Regions from separate parts of the Homo sapiens genome. Here all the other regions are linked to region 1. The links are contacts of gene promoters, found by promoter capture Hi-C in blood cells and fetal thymus (Javierre and others, 2016). All regions are on one chromosome and are shown on one strand. Each heading gives the region's core, a stretch centred on a gene start or on the middle of the fragment in contact. The rest is flanking DNA. Distances are from core to core; before and after follow the strand shown. Region 1 holds the start of ALPK3 (alpha kinase 3). Region 2 has its middle 170 kb from the start of PDE8A. Region 3 overlaps PDE8A (phosphodiesterase 8A). Region 4 overlaps PDE8A (phosphodiesterase 8A).

Evidence for each region. Contacts are between HindIII fragments. The CHiCAGO score rates a contact against its expected background, and 5 or more counts as called.
Region 2: a contact is called between a fragment that was not itself captured here and the fragment with the promoter of ALPK3 in region 1, in 1 of 17 cell types (M2 macrophages). The highest score is 5.2, in M2 macrophages.
Region 3: a contact is called between a fragment that was not itself captured here and the fragment with the promoter of ALPK3 in region 1, in 1 of 17 cell types (naive CD8 T cells). The highest score is 5.5, in naive CD8 T cells.
Region 4: a fragment that was not itself captured here is called in contact with the fragment with the promoter of ALPK3 in region 1 in 1 of 17 cell types (naive B cells); the score reaches 5.7 in naive B cells.

What each region holds. Positions count from the first base shown.
Region 1 is chr15:84,815,771-84,819,105 of GRCh38, forward strand. It overlaps ALPK3 (alpha kinase 3), which reads left to right and starts at 1,586. Exons shown (of 14, transcript NM_020778.5): 1 at 1,586-1,825. The coding sequence starts at 1,683. RefSeq lists an enhancer at 684-1,214. The HindIII fragment of the contact is 9,413 bases long and covers 1-2,540 here.
Region 2 is chr15:85,147,982-85,151,316 of GRCh38, forward strand. No RefSeq gene overlaps it. Among named protein-coding and RNA genes, the nearest start is that of PDE8A, 170 kb to the left of the region's middle. RefSeq lists an enhancer at 1,719-1,888. The HindIII fragment of the contact is 1,624 bases long and covers 654-2,277 here.
Region 3 is chr15:85,116,432-85,119,766 of GRCh38, forward strand. PDE8A (phosphodiesterase 8A) reads left to right here. Exons shown (of 22, transcript NM_002605.3): 17 at 1,210-1,408. Among named protein-coding and RNA genes, the nearest start is that of PDE8A, 140 kb to the left of the region's middle. RefSeq lists an enhancer at 1,759-1,928 and a cis regulatory region at 1,844. The HindIII fragment of the contact is 1,424 bases long and covers 860-2,283 here.
Region 4 is chr15:85,079,765-85,083,099 of GRCh38, forward strand. The region is part of intron 5 of PDE8A (phosphodiesterase 8A); the gene reads left to right. Among named protein-coding and RNA genes, the nearest start is that of PDE8A, 100 kb to the left of the region's middle. The HindIII fragment of the contact is 720 bases long and covers 1,127-1,846 here.

The DNA of each region.
Region 1 (3,335 bases), core at 336-2,835:
GAGGGCACCTGAAAGCCACCAGGACCCTGTGTCCTTTGCCTCTGCTTCTCTCTGTGCTAGCTTCCTTATTCCTCACTGTAAACTGGCTTACTCTACAGGGCAGGAAACATGGCTGCTGACAGCTGTGGCCTCACAGCTCAGTTTTCCACCACAGAGGGTCTGGTTTTCTTTCCCAATTCCAGTTAAAAATGTTTTAGAGAAGAACTTTATTGGCACAGCCAGGGTCTATAGTCAGGGAGATTGGGTACCGTGAATAGCCTGGCTTGAGTTTGATGGCAGTCAGCTGAGGCCAGGAGTGGGATCATGTGGGAACAAGGTAGTTGCCATTGGAACCACACGGAGTAGGGGAAAGCCATTTCCAAAAGGAGTAGGGATGGGTGCAGCTTCGAAAACAGAAGGGTTGGACTCCTTTGCTCCCACTTTCTAACAATTACAGCCATTTAGCTTCAGGTACTTTCTGGATGCTCTCAGGAAAATAGGAGAAAGAAGGATGGATAAAAAAGTCTGTGGGCACTTCCGGCCGGGCGCGGTGGCTCACGCCTGTAATCCCAGCACTTTGGGAGGCCCAGGCGGGCGAATCACGAGGTCAGGAGATCGAGACCATCCTGGCTAACACGGTGAAACCCCGTCTCTACTAAAAAATACAAAGAAAAAAATTAGCCGGGCGTGGTGTGGGGCGCCTGTAGTCCCAGCTACTCGGGAGGCTGAGGCAGGAGAATGGCATGAACCCGGGAGGCGGAGGTTGCGGTGAGCCGAGATAGCGCCACTGCACTCCAGCCTGGGCGACAGAGCCAGACTCTGTCTCAAAAAAAAAAAAAGTCTGTGGGGACTTCCAATATTTAGACCAGGTTTCGGCAGTGCTTGGCACTAGTTCTTGGAAATTGTTGCATGATTTGATTATTTTTCTGGGTATCAGGACTCAGCCCATTTCCCCCTCTGGTGCTGAGAAATGGAGGCCGAAGGAGTGATCTAGAAGTGTTAATTGAGCCCCTAATCTATGCTAGTTACTGGGGGTGTTGGGGGAGACAGGAGAGAGATCCCACGGGGTTCCGGCCTCCCAGGGACTCAGGTCACTAATGGAGGTGGCTTGGCTTGTCTATGTGCTGGGCCAACAGCCACTGGCGAGGCAAGGCGAGGGTCAGTCACGGCTGGTGCCAGGAAGAGGGCTGGTTCTTTGGCTCCCTGGTCTCCCGCGGTCTAGCCCAAGCTGGCCAGCGGTTGACCTGGCTCCCCTGGCCCCGGCCAGGCCTCGTGGACCCCTCATATGCCACACGGGACATGAGCAGGCCGGCCGGGAGCCGGGTCCCGGGAGCTCCACGAAGGGGCCTGTCCTCCATGACCAGGACACCCGCTGCGCCTTCCTCCCGAGGCCTCCCGGGCCTCTCCAGACGCGGCGCTACTGCAGACACCAGGGCCGCCAAGGGAGCGGACTCGGAGCCGGCCCTGGGGCGGGCACATGGGCCCCGGCGCCCCCCGGCGTCTCCAAGCCGCGCTGCCCGGGTCGGGCCAGGCCAGGGGAGGGACAGCAGCAGGTGACGACGGCCCGGCCACCGGCTATAAATAGGGGCGCGCGTCAGCCGCGGGCGGGAGCGGCGGCGGCGGGCAGGGGCCCGGGGGCCGGGGCCTGGAGGACAGGCGAGGCAGCGGCGAGTGCGGGGCCGGCGGTCGGGGAGGGCGGTGCCATGGGGTCGCGGAGGGCCCCCAGCCGGGGCTGGGGCGCGGGTGGGCGGTCGGGGGCGGGGGGCGACGGTGAGGACGACGGCCCCGTGTGGATCCCCAGCCCAGCCAGCCGGAGCTACCTGCTCAGCGTGCGGCCCGAGACCAGGTAAGTGGCACCAAGGGGCAGGGCGGCGTCGGGCCGGCGATGCCCTGGGATCAGTCCCTGTGAGGGCGGCCTGGCCCCTGGAGGCCTGGGCTGGGCCTGCGCCCTCGAGCCCTCTCAGCCCCAAGGCCCAGGGCCTGGGGACATGGCCGGGCTGGAATGGCTTTCATAGCCCCTTGTGACCCCTCCTGATCCATGCGCCTCAGGCCTCTGGCAATTCGAGGCTCAAGAGAGGACAAAGGCTCCACTTTGGAGTGATTTCATGGGGTCTGAAGGCTTTCCTTATCTCCCCTGCCCCCTACCCTGCTACTCCCTGGCTTGGGATTCCACAGCTAGCGATAAGGAAAGCCAGAGTGGCTGAAATTCCTCCCTGGCAGGAAGGGAGGGGGAGAGCACTGGTGGGGACAGGGAGAGGGTGCTGGGGGGCTGCCCAGAGTAGGAGCTGCTTAGCTCAGGGTGGGGAGGTTCTCCAGGAAGAAATAAACCTTTGTAAATAAGGTTCCTCTACTGGGCCGAGGACTTGGGTCCTCCCCAGGACCTGAGTGGGGGCTGGTGAGATAGGGGGTGGGATGAGGTACTGTCTGGAGATGTTGGGAATTAAGGACTTGCAGCTCTGAGGGAGCCAAGTGCCCTGTCCAGTTTGGGGAAGTGAAATGCCAAGGGAGGTGTGGAACTGATGAGCCCTTCACTGGTCTTCCAAGAGTTCAAGAGGTGTGGAAGCTTTGTTTTAGCAGCTAGGCCACCCACAGATATAAAGACACAAAGACAATAGACAGGCATCCAGGAAATCAAAGGCACACAGGCACACGTGGACAGGCGCATTGCCATGGAGACAGACACTTCCTGCCCCCTGTGGGCAGCTCAGTTTCCCTTCACTTCTGGAGTCTGTTTTCCAAAGGGAAATGTGTTGAGATAGTGGTTGTTTCATAGCCTGAGAACTTGACTTGTGTATTATGCAGAAAACGGCCATTCCTCCAAGAGGCTGTCCAGAGACCTCTTGTTCTCCATTCCTAAAACAGCATAAAAACAGGCATCGAGGACATTCAGGAAAAGTCCTGGGCACTTCCTCGTGAATTGGCTGAGTCCTACTGACCTTGGAGTTGGGAAAGTTCAAATGTAACCGGAACCGGTTTCTGCATAAAACTCGTCAAATGGTGTCACATGTCTGGGGCAGGGCTGAGGACTGATGTTAGTGACTGAGTCAGACTCAACAAGGCCCCTGGCTGCCAGGAAAGAATACCCCTTTTTCTTACTCCTGGCTCTACAGATAAACCAGAATGAAATTTGGACATTTATTCCAGTCCTTAGAGAAGCTGACTCCCTTGTGGGAGCCTCACATTTGTCACAGTGACTTGTCTGGGCTTTGCCTCCTGTGTTTGGCCTTTGTCAATACCAGTGGAACAAACAGAAGAGGCGGAACCAGGGTCCTTCTTGGAGACAGCAGCAATGAAGGAAGGGAGGAAAGAGTGCCTTGAAAACCAGGCAGAATGGGGAGGGCAGGGGATCTGGGCTT
Region 2 (3,335 bases), core at 216-2,715, 330 kb after region 1:
GCCAACATGGTAAAACCCTGTCTCTACTAAAAATATAAAAATTAGCCAGGTGTGGTGGCAGGCACCTACAATCCCAGCTACTCAGGAGGCTGAGGCAGGAGAATCGCTTGAATCTGGGAGGCGGAGGTTGCAGTGAGCCGAGATCATGCCACTGCACTCCAGCCTGGGCAGCAGAGTGAGACTCAGTGTCAAAAAAAAGAAAGAAAGAAAAGGACCAATTCTTTGAAAGACACAATCTGCCAAAACTCACAAGAAACAATCAATCTGAATAAGCCTATATCTATTAAAGAAATCAATAATTAATAACTTTTCAAAACAGAAAATGCCAGGCTCAAATGGGTTCACTTGTGAATTCTGTTAGACATATAAGGAAGAAATTATACCCTTATTTTACAATCTGGTTCAGAAGATCAAAGCAGAAGGGATACTTTATAACTCATTATATGGGGCCAGACTCATACACATACCAGACAAAGACATGGCAAGCAAATGACAGACCAATATCTTTCATGAACCTAGATACAAAAATCCTCAACAAAATATTAGCAAATAGAATCCAGCAATGTGTAAAAAGAATTACACTTCACAACCAGATAGGATTTATCCCAAGTATGAAAAACCACAGTTATCATACTGAATAGTGAGAAACTAGAAGCTTTCCTGCTAACAACAGGAGCAATGCAAGGAGGTCCCTGTCACCATTCCTTTTCAACACTGGACTGCAGTCCAGTGCAGAGAAAGGATATACTGAATAAGAAGGAAGAAATAAAACTGTGTTCGCAGATGACATGATTACCTATGTAGAAAATCCAAAAGAATAAAAAAACCTGGAATAAGCCATTATGGCAAGGTTACAGAGTACAATGTTAAAAAACAAAAGTCAGTCACTTTCCTATACCAACAATAAGTAGAATTTGAAATTAAAAACACAATAGTATTTATGTTAGCCCCCCCACCTCAAAATGAAATACTTATATATAAATCTAACAAAATATATACAAGATCTTTATAAGGGAAACTACAAATCTTATATGAAAGAAATCAAAGAAGAGCTGAATAAATGAAGAGCTATTCCATGTTCATAGATAGGAAGACTCAATATTGCCAAGATGTAATTTCTTCACAGCTTCATCTAGATTCAATGTAACCACAATCAAAATCCCAGCAAGCTATTTTGTGGATCTTAACAAACTGATTTTACAGTTTACTGGAGAGGCAAAAGACCCAGAATAGCCAACAGGATACTAAGGGAGAAGAACAAAGTTGGAAGACTGATACTACCTGACTTCAAGACTTACTATAAAGCCACAGTATTCAAAAAGATGCAGTAGGGCGAAAGAATAAATAGATCAATGGAACAAAATAGAGTGCCAGAAATAATGGACCCCACATAAATATAGTCAACTGATATTTGACAAGGGAGCAAAGCAACACAATGAAACAAAGACAGTTTTGTGTTTTTGTTTTTGTTTTTTTTTACTAAATTGTGCTAGAATTGAACATCCACATACAAAAAAAAAAAAAAAAAGAATCTAGACACAGACCTTACAACCTTCACACAGATTAACTCAAATTGGCTCATAGGCCCAAATATAAAATGTAAAACTCCTAGAAGACAGCATAAGAGAAAACCTAGGTGAGCATGGGTATACTGAAAACTTTTTAGATACCACAACAAAGGCACATTCTGTGACGGAAATAACTGATCAGCTGGATTCCATTAAAGTTAAAAACCTGCTCTGTAAGAGAATGTGAAGAGGATGAGAAGAAAAGCCACAGACTGGGACAAAATATTTGCAAAATGCACATAAAGATCCAAAATATACAAAGCACTCTTAAAACTCAGCAATAAGAAAACAATCTGATATTAAAATGGGTCAAAGATCTTCACAAAGACTTCACCAGAGAAGATCTACAGATGGCAAATAAGGATATAAAAAGATGCACCACACCATATGTCATCGGGGAAGCACAAGCTAAAACAACAGTGAGATACCACTACACACCTGTTAGAATGGCCAGACTCGAGAACACAGACAACACCAAATGCTGATGAGGATGTGAAGCAACAGGACGTCTCATTCATTGCTGGTGGGAAGGCAAAAATGATACAGCCGCATTGGAAGACAGTTTGGTAGTTTTTCACAAAACTAAATGCAATCTTACCAAATGATCCAATAATCATGTCCTTGGTATATACCCAAAGGAGCTGAAATTTTATGTTCACATAAAATCCTTCACATGAATGTTTACAATGGCCTTATTCATAATTGCTCAAGCTTGGAAACAACCAAGATATCCTTCAGTTAGTGAATGGATAAACTGTGATGCATCCAGACAATGGAATTTTATTCAGCACTAAAAAGAATTGAGCTATCAAGGAATGAAGAGACACAGAGGAACCTTTAATGCATATTACTAAGTGAATGAAGCCGATCTGAAAGGGCTACATACTGTACGATTCCAACTATTGACAGCCTGGAAAAGGCAAAAGTGTAGAGACAGTAAACAGCTTAGTAGTTGCCATGGGGTAAGGGGACACAGAAGCAAAGCACAGCAGATTTTTAGGGCAGTGAAAATACTCTATAATGGTAGATGCATGTCATTATACATTCGTCCATACCCACAGAATGTACAACAGCAGAGTGAATCCTAATGTAAACTAGGGGCTCTGGGTGATAACGATGTGTCAATGTAGGTTCATCAGCTGTAACCAATGTGCCACTCTGCTGGGGGAGTTGCTAATGGGGGACGGCAGAGGGTATGGGGAACACCCATAGTTCAAAAACTTTTGAAAAGCTTCTTCTCAATTTTGTTGTAAACCTAAAAACTGCCCTTAAAAATCAAGTTTTGTTTGTTTGTTTGTTTTTGAGATGGAGTCTCACTCTGTCACTCAGGCTGGAGTGCAATGGCGTGATCTTGGCTCAATGCAACCTCCACCTCGCAGGTTCAAGTGATTCTCCTGCCTCAGCCTCCTGAATAGCTGGGACTACAGGCACCCGCCACCATGCCCAGCTAATTTTTGTACTTTTAGTAGAGATGGGGTTTCACTATGTTGGCCAGGCTGGTCTCGAACTCCCGACCTCATGATCCACCTGCCTTGGCCTCCCACAAGTGCTGGGATTACAGGCATGAGTCACTGCACCTGGCCTCCAAAATCAACTATTTTTAAAAACCCACAAGCCATGTATCATTTTTACAAAATGAGGAAACTCGTGTAGATATGAAAAAAATTACCAAGATATATTTATAAGTGAAAAAGCATAAGCATAATGCAAAATAAGATACACATAGGCAAGCATTTGTTTAAGTGCTAAATTAGCTTAAAATCATGG
Region 3 (3,335 bases), core at 322-2,821, 300 kb after region 1:
CTGCTCAGAGCCTAGAACCAAAATTTATTAGAAACACATACACATGTGATAAGAGCTGCTCCCAGCTTTTGGTTGTTCTGTTGGTGATAGGCATAGGGACACCCAAAGCCCCAGTCATCCTCATCTGGGTGTGATCACAGAGAGTGGGAGCAGGAATGGGGTTTTGCCTTGAGTTTTTTCCCTTGCGGGAGAAGAGCTGTTAACCAAAGGTGGTAGTTGGCTGGGCACACAAGAAAGGGAGGTCCACAGAGCTGATTCCAGCCAGGACTGCCCACTAGGGTGTCTAGGCAGAGGTGTGCTCGGTTGGGCCATGGGATGGCTCCTCAGGTCTCATCTCAGTCTGGGTGACCTGTCCCCAAGATAACTCCCTGACTTTTTCAGGCTCCCCTTGAGTTAACCTTCTGATACGTTCTACTTCCCTATCTCCCAGCACAGCCAAGGAGAGTTGAAAAGAATACTCCCTGGGCACATGAGTCTTTGAGCATCTGGTTTACATGCTAGTGACATTACATCCATGTGAATTGGGCTAAGGCAGGTCAGTTTAAGTCCTGTGATCACTTCTGGATACTGCCTCAACACAGCCAGTTTCTTGGCCTTCACAGGCAAGGGCCAGATGCTGGGTCAAGGTGATTTCTCAAGTAAGAACCTAACTTGGTGGCCAGCTGGAAACCTCAGGGGAAATCCCCTCATACTTTTAACGCCCACCTCCAGAAAGGTGGGTGTTGAGAAAATTCCATTGCATACGGCAGTGTCTGGCTTATATGACATTTTCAGGAAATGTTTTCTTATAGGCAGGATGTCTGGCCAATGGCATGGGTCCAGCAAGTCCAAAGGAGAGGATAGTGTTCAAGGTGGTACAAGCTTAGCCTGGAGAAAGGGTTATTTTGAGGAACCCACTAGTGCAAGTAGGAAGCTGAACCTGGAAGGACAGAATGAGCAAACTCCCCCCAACAAATCGGGAGCCCCAACGAGGCTGAGGTCAGAGCTGCTGTGGGCAGCCAGCTCTCACCCGTGCATCATGGTCCCCTGAGGGCAAGAAGTGGAACCAGAGTTGGTTGGCCCCACCAGAGAGAGGCCAGCACAGCCCAAGCAATCTCCACTTTGCTGCCCTGCACTCTCTGAAATTTGGCTTGGAACCTATTCAGGCCTTAAACACTTGGCCTGTTTGTTTGCTTTGTTCTAATATTGTGGGGTTTTTTCTGTCTATAGGCCTTTGATTTATCTTGGTCTCAAAATGTTTGCTCGCTTTGGAATCTGTGAATTCTTACACTGCTCCGAGTCAACGCTAAGATCATGGTTACAAATTATCGAAGCCAATTATCATTCCTCCAATCCCTACCACAATTCTACACATTCTGCTGATGTGCTTCATGCCACTGCCTATTTTCTCTCCAAGGAGAGGATAAAGGTGAGCTGTTGTTTACCTGCCACATTTAATGGGCAGGAGCAGTGGGGAGAGTCTAGTGCTTCTGCCTCCACTAAGATACATAGCATGACTGCTCACGTGTGCAGCCTGGCACAGGAAGGGCAAGGTCATACGAGGAATCAGGCAGGAGGCCACATTAGCTTTGGGAAATTGATGTGTTAATTCATGACATAATCCCAGCTATTCCATGAGGGTACAAGAGGCAGAATTTGGTCCCGGAGGAGAAACCTAACAAGGACAGGATAGGGCTATTCTTCTGGGGGTCTCACTCCAAGCCTGTACACTAGTAGAGCCAAGTAACTGTTGGATATCCCCACTTTAGGGCCTCCATCTGTACATGAAAGTCTGCAGGGCTCTAAGGTCAGGTTCATCATCTCTGTTCCCAGCACTGCTCCCACCCAGGGTTATCTACCTAATCCAGGGTTCCATTATCCAACCGGATACCCAGATTAGAAACCGAGAGTCATCCTTGGTTCTTTCCACTCCTCAACCCCCCACATCTGGTTGATCATCTGACCTTGCCTCCTGTCACACCTAAATGTTCTCAGATTCATCTCCTGCTGCTGTCCCAGTGAGGCCCCCCGCAATCCTTTCGCATCTGGGCAGTTCCAAACTAGAATTCTTGCCTGCCCTGCCTCCCATGGAATGCCCTTACCCTACTGCCAATGTGATCTTTCTGAAACAGCATACCTGATATTGTCATTCCCAGGAGCAGCTTCCCACCTCCCTCAGGATTTAAACTTTAAACTCTACAGCTCTCCACACTCACCTCAACAATGAGCTCCTCTCATCATTTCTTCTCCTTTGTCCCAGTCACAGGCCACTTTTGGGCCATGCCAAACCACTTTAGTTTCTGAAGCTTCTGCCCTTGACCTGTTGCTCCCTTGACTGGGGCCTAAGATGACTGCAGTCATGCAGGGCCAGGGCAAGTGGCTCCTGGCTGCATTTCCTCCTCTGTATCACGGGACTAGCATTTGGCAGAGAGCAAAGCAGAAGATGACATCTGGCACACACAGGGAGTGAACAAGTGTTCATTCCTCACCTTGAAGGGTAAACCTTCTCAGAACTTTCCGTGCTCCCTCTGGTTCTTATTTCTGTTTTTGTTTTTTGTTTTTTTCCAGAAAAAATCAAATCAGACTGTAGGTAAAATAGGGTGTCCAGAGAAGGGGACTGTTTTCTAAATTATGAAAACAAGTAACAACAGAGGGACATCTGTGTCAATATGGCTCAGCATATAAAGAACCCAATTTTTGCTGTATTGCTTTTAAACTACTCTATAGACAACATACAAATATATATTTAGAGAGCTAACTGAAAACAGTTTATTAGAGCATTTATTGAAATGTCATGGTGGCTCACACCTGTAATCCCAGTACTTTGGGATACCAAGGCAGATGGATCAGGAATTCGAGACCAGCCTAGCCAACATGGTGAAACACCATCTCTACTAAAAATAGAAAAATTAGCTGGGCATGGTGGTGCAGGCCTATAATCCAGCTACTTGAGAGGCTGAGGCAGGAGAATCACTTGAACCCAGGAGGTGGAGGTTGCAGTGAGCCAAGATCATGCTATTGCATTGCAGCCTGGGTGACAGAGCAAGACTCTCGTCTCAAAAAAAAAAAAACATTTATTGAAATGTAATTCACATACCATACTATTTGCGCACTTAAAATTTAAATTATTGAATTTTAATTTAAATCAATTTAAATAAATTTGCAAGGCTGATTTATTAGCTATACATCTCAAGAGTCTGTAGGGTATTTCCAAAAATGATCTTATACTGGGACATAATGTGTTGAACTTCTAAACTTCATAGGCTATATTTTCTAACCACAACACAACAAAATAGAATAACTAATGGTTAAATTTAAAATATCAGCTACAACAAATGAGAAAATATTCTGAATAA
Region 4 (3,335 bases), core at 237-2,736, 260 kb after region 1:
TACCCGGGCATGGTGGCGCACACCTGTAATCCCAGCTACTCAGGAGGCTGAAGAAGGAGAATCCCTTGAACCCAGGAGGTGGAGGTTGCAGTGAGCTGAGATTGCACCACTGCACTCCAGCCTGCACAGTGGGAGCAAGACTCCATCTCAAAAAAAAAAAGAAAGAATAAAAGCAAATGTATATGAATGGGCTGAATTCTTCCTTTAAAAGATAGGCTGTTAGATTGGGTTGAAAAAGTACAATTCTATAACAGTTACAAGACACTTAACATGATAAAAGGAGCTTAAGTAAAAGAACATAGAGGTAGCAAGTAAATGCAGACAAAAAGAACACAGATATTGATATTGATATTAATATCAGATGAGGTGGAATTTAAGATTTTAGTTTATATGTAAATACAGTTTTATATAAAAAGCACACATTAGGTTATTGATTATATAGCTGTGGCTTTCTTGTGTTTCCCCCTTTTTGGACAACCCCCACAACATACATACACATCAGCACCTACCTCCATTCCCTGACCTCTAGTAATTCCTGTTAAATTGTATGAGAACAGTTTACTTAGCCAGCAGTAAGGCGTCCCAGGTTGGAAGTCAGAAGTCCCCTATGGATCTTTATGTCATCCCTCCCTAAGCTGCTTGCTTTTGCAACTAAGGCCGCAAAACTGGCTATTCCTTTTAACAAGAACCTTAGAAGCTTCCACTTTCTAGTGAAACTTAGGGGATAGATTATTCCCTCTGCCTTGGGTTATTTGCTTACCTACAGCCGCATGAGGTCATTAAGGCTTGTGTTTGTTTGAGGTCTCTTTGAAAGTACATAGATGCACTGTTGGAAATTTGTGCCTGGTGACTGCCGTGTTTGAAATTCTGCCCAAGAAGTCTATCAGCATAGTTCTGTGGACCAGAAAGAGCATCCTGGTAGAAGGTCAAGTAAATCATGGTCCTTATATTTTCTTAGTATTACTGTGTTATCATGGAGCTAACTTGAAAAGTAACTGACACACACACTCTTGCTGCCTCAAGCCTGCACACCTTAATCAAAATCAAGGAACCCCCTGAAGACTTCAATGGAACCACTTTTAGGTGCACGCCCCTGTGAGGACACGTCCATGCAAAAAGCCCAAAAAGCTTTACAGTAGTCACTTTAGAAGCACCTGACTTAGGAAATGTAGAGGTAGTGGCAGGCTCTCCATTTTGTAGGTGAGGAATTCATGCGGTCAACCAGTCCTCAGAGACCACTAACTAATTAGTGCTAACTAATCTCATCCAGAGTCTCTTACTTTTGTGTGACAAAAGGATGCTCAGGTTACTGAGAAGAAGAGTTAGACCTGGAGGAAGGGGATTCTCCCAGTCATGGCTGTAGGCGGTGGTGCCAAGGCTTGAATCTGAAAGCTAACACCATAATGATATCTCTGGTACAGGGGATGGGGCATAGGAAAGGCCATGAGCTATTTTGTGTTTTAGCCATGTTTCAGGATTGAAAAGTAGGTGGAGGACCTGCTAGCTTCCTCAATTGGATTTGGCCATTGAGTCGGTAGACTCACTGCTGGGTGCACATTAGAATCACCTGAATAACATCCCTAGGGAGTCTGTTTCAGTTGGTCTGGGGAGGGGCCTGCATGCTGGTGTTTTTTCAAATTGCAGATAATTCTAATATGCAGCTGAGAGTTGAGAACCACTGGGAGAGGCCTAGCAAAGATGGGCTCAGGTCCTAGCCGTGGGTGTGATATGCTTTGGAGAAAGTGAGGTTAAGTTAGCTTAGAAGTCTAGGATTTGTAGTCCCAGCCCCTTTCGTGGAAGAAGGTTAAGGGAGAGGAGACTAACCGCTGTTTAAGCAGAGGGAATAAGCTTGCTTTCTGAGGATCCCTGGACCTGATTCTTCACCCTCCATGCCCTGTGGGATCCTTGGGACAGAAACAAAAGTTGGCAAGGGGCAGGAAAGATGAGATGTTTAGATAAAGAGAACAGTGTTTAAACACGCATAGCAAAACAAAAGTTTTGAGGGAGGGGGCAAACAGGAGCAAGATGCTGTACATTTGGTCACATGCTAGTTTTTTTTACCTTGATTTCTGCCTTTGGGGTAAAAAAGTTTGGTGGATACATAACATTCAGACCAATTAAAAAGTCTGATTGCATGCATGGGAATCCATTTGTGGAAATGGATAAATACACATTCCCTCCACAGCCCTCACATCCCCTCCACAGCCCTCACATCCCAGAATCTTACCTGCGGAGGAACTGAGGACCCCTGTCTATCTCAAGGCCCCGATTCCATGTCTCCTGGAGTGGCACAAGCACTATGTCAAGAAATCTCTTTTCCCTGTCCCTGCCCAATCAGAAGTGGGTTCCTGTCCAGTGTTTTTGGGTGTTCCCATGGGGTCTTGGCTGATGGAGGTGTGGACAGCAGGTCTAGCATACTCCTCCCTTCTCAGTCGGTGGGAGCTGGCAGGCATGTCACCTCTGTCAGACCTCTGGGTAAGAAAGGGGCTCTGTTTTGGCCTATAGGTATAAGGTTTATCATGCTCCTGGTCAACAGGTCTTGCCTTCCCCTGTGGGGGTGACAGTAGCTGTTCTTTACATTTATGCAGCAGTTTGTACTTAAAATGCTTTCTCCCATCATGTCTTTTTATTCTCGGTGACCTTCATTGGGTAGGAACAGTATTATTTTTCTTGCTTTACAGTTGAGGAAACAGGCTCAGGAATGTTAGGTGCCTCATATACAATCATACAGCTTTTAAGGCACGAACCAAGGGCTAGATTTTTAGGTTGCTTGACACCCAGACAAGACCCTGATCACAGTTCAGACGGGTCATTTGCGTTCACCGTGGTAGTAGAAGGAACTCTTTAAGGGGACCCCTGTCCCAGATTGGTCTGGCTGGGGCTTATAGATAGTGATATGCAGAGGCTCTGCCTCTTAGGCATCAGCTTCCTCTTCAGCCAGGTAGAGTATTGTCCACTTATTGTGCAGGTAAAAAGCAAGGAGCTCTTTAGAAATGGGGGAGTAATGTTCACAAATATTTTTACATTTGAATAGAACTATATGACAGAACACAGTGGCTGCTAAGATGTCTTTATGGAGTATTTAATTTGATGGTGGAATGGGTCCATCTTCTCAGAACTATGTAATTCACTTTGTCGTGAGATATTTCCACTATGTAAAGGTTATACAAAATACTTAATGTCCACGGCTATAAGAGACACTGGGCAAATCCATCCATGGCTTCTGCCAGTGCCTCTGCTGTGGAAGATAATCCTCTGTCGGCTTCACTGAGCCACTGTTGGAGGTTAGTTCAGGAAAATGTTGCCCATGTTGGGGTTCCCCCTGTGAAATACAG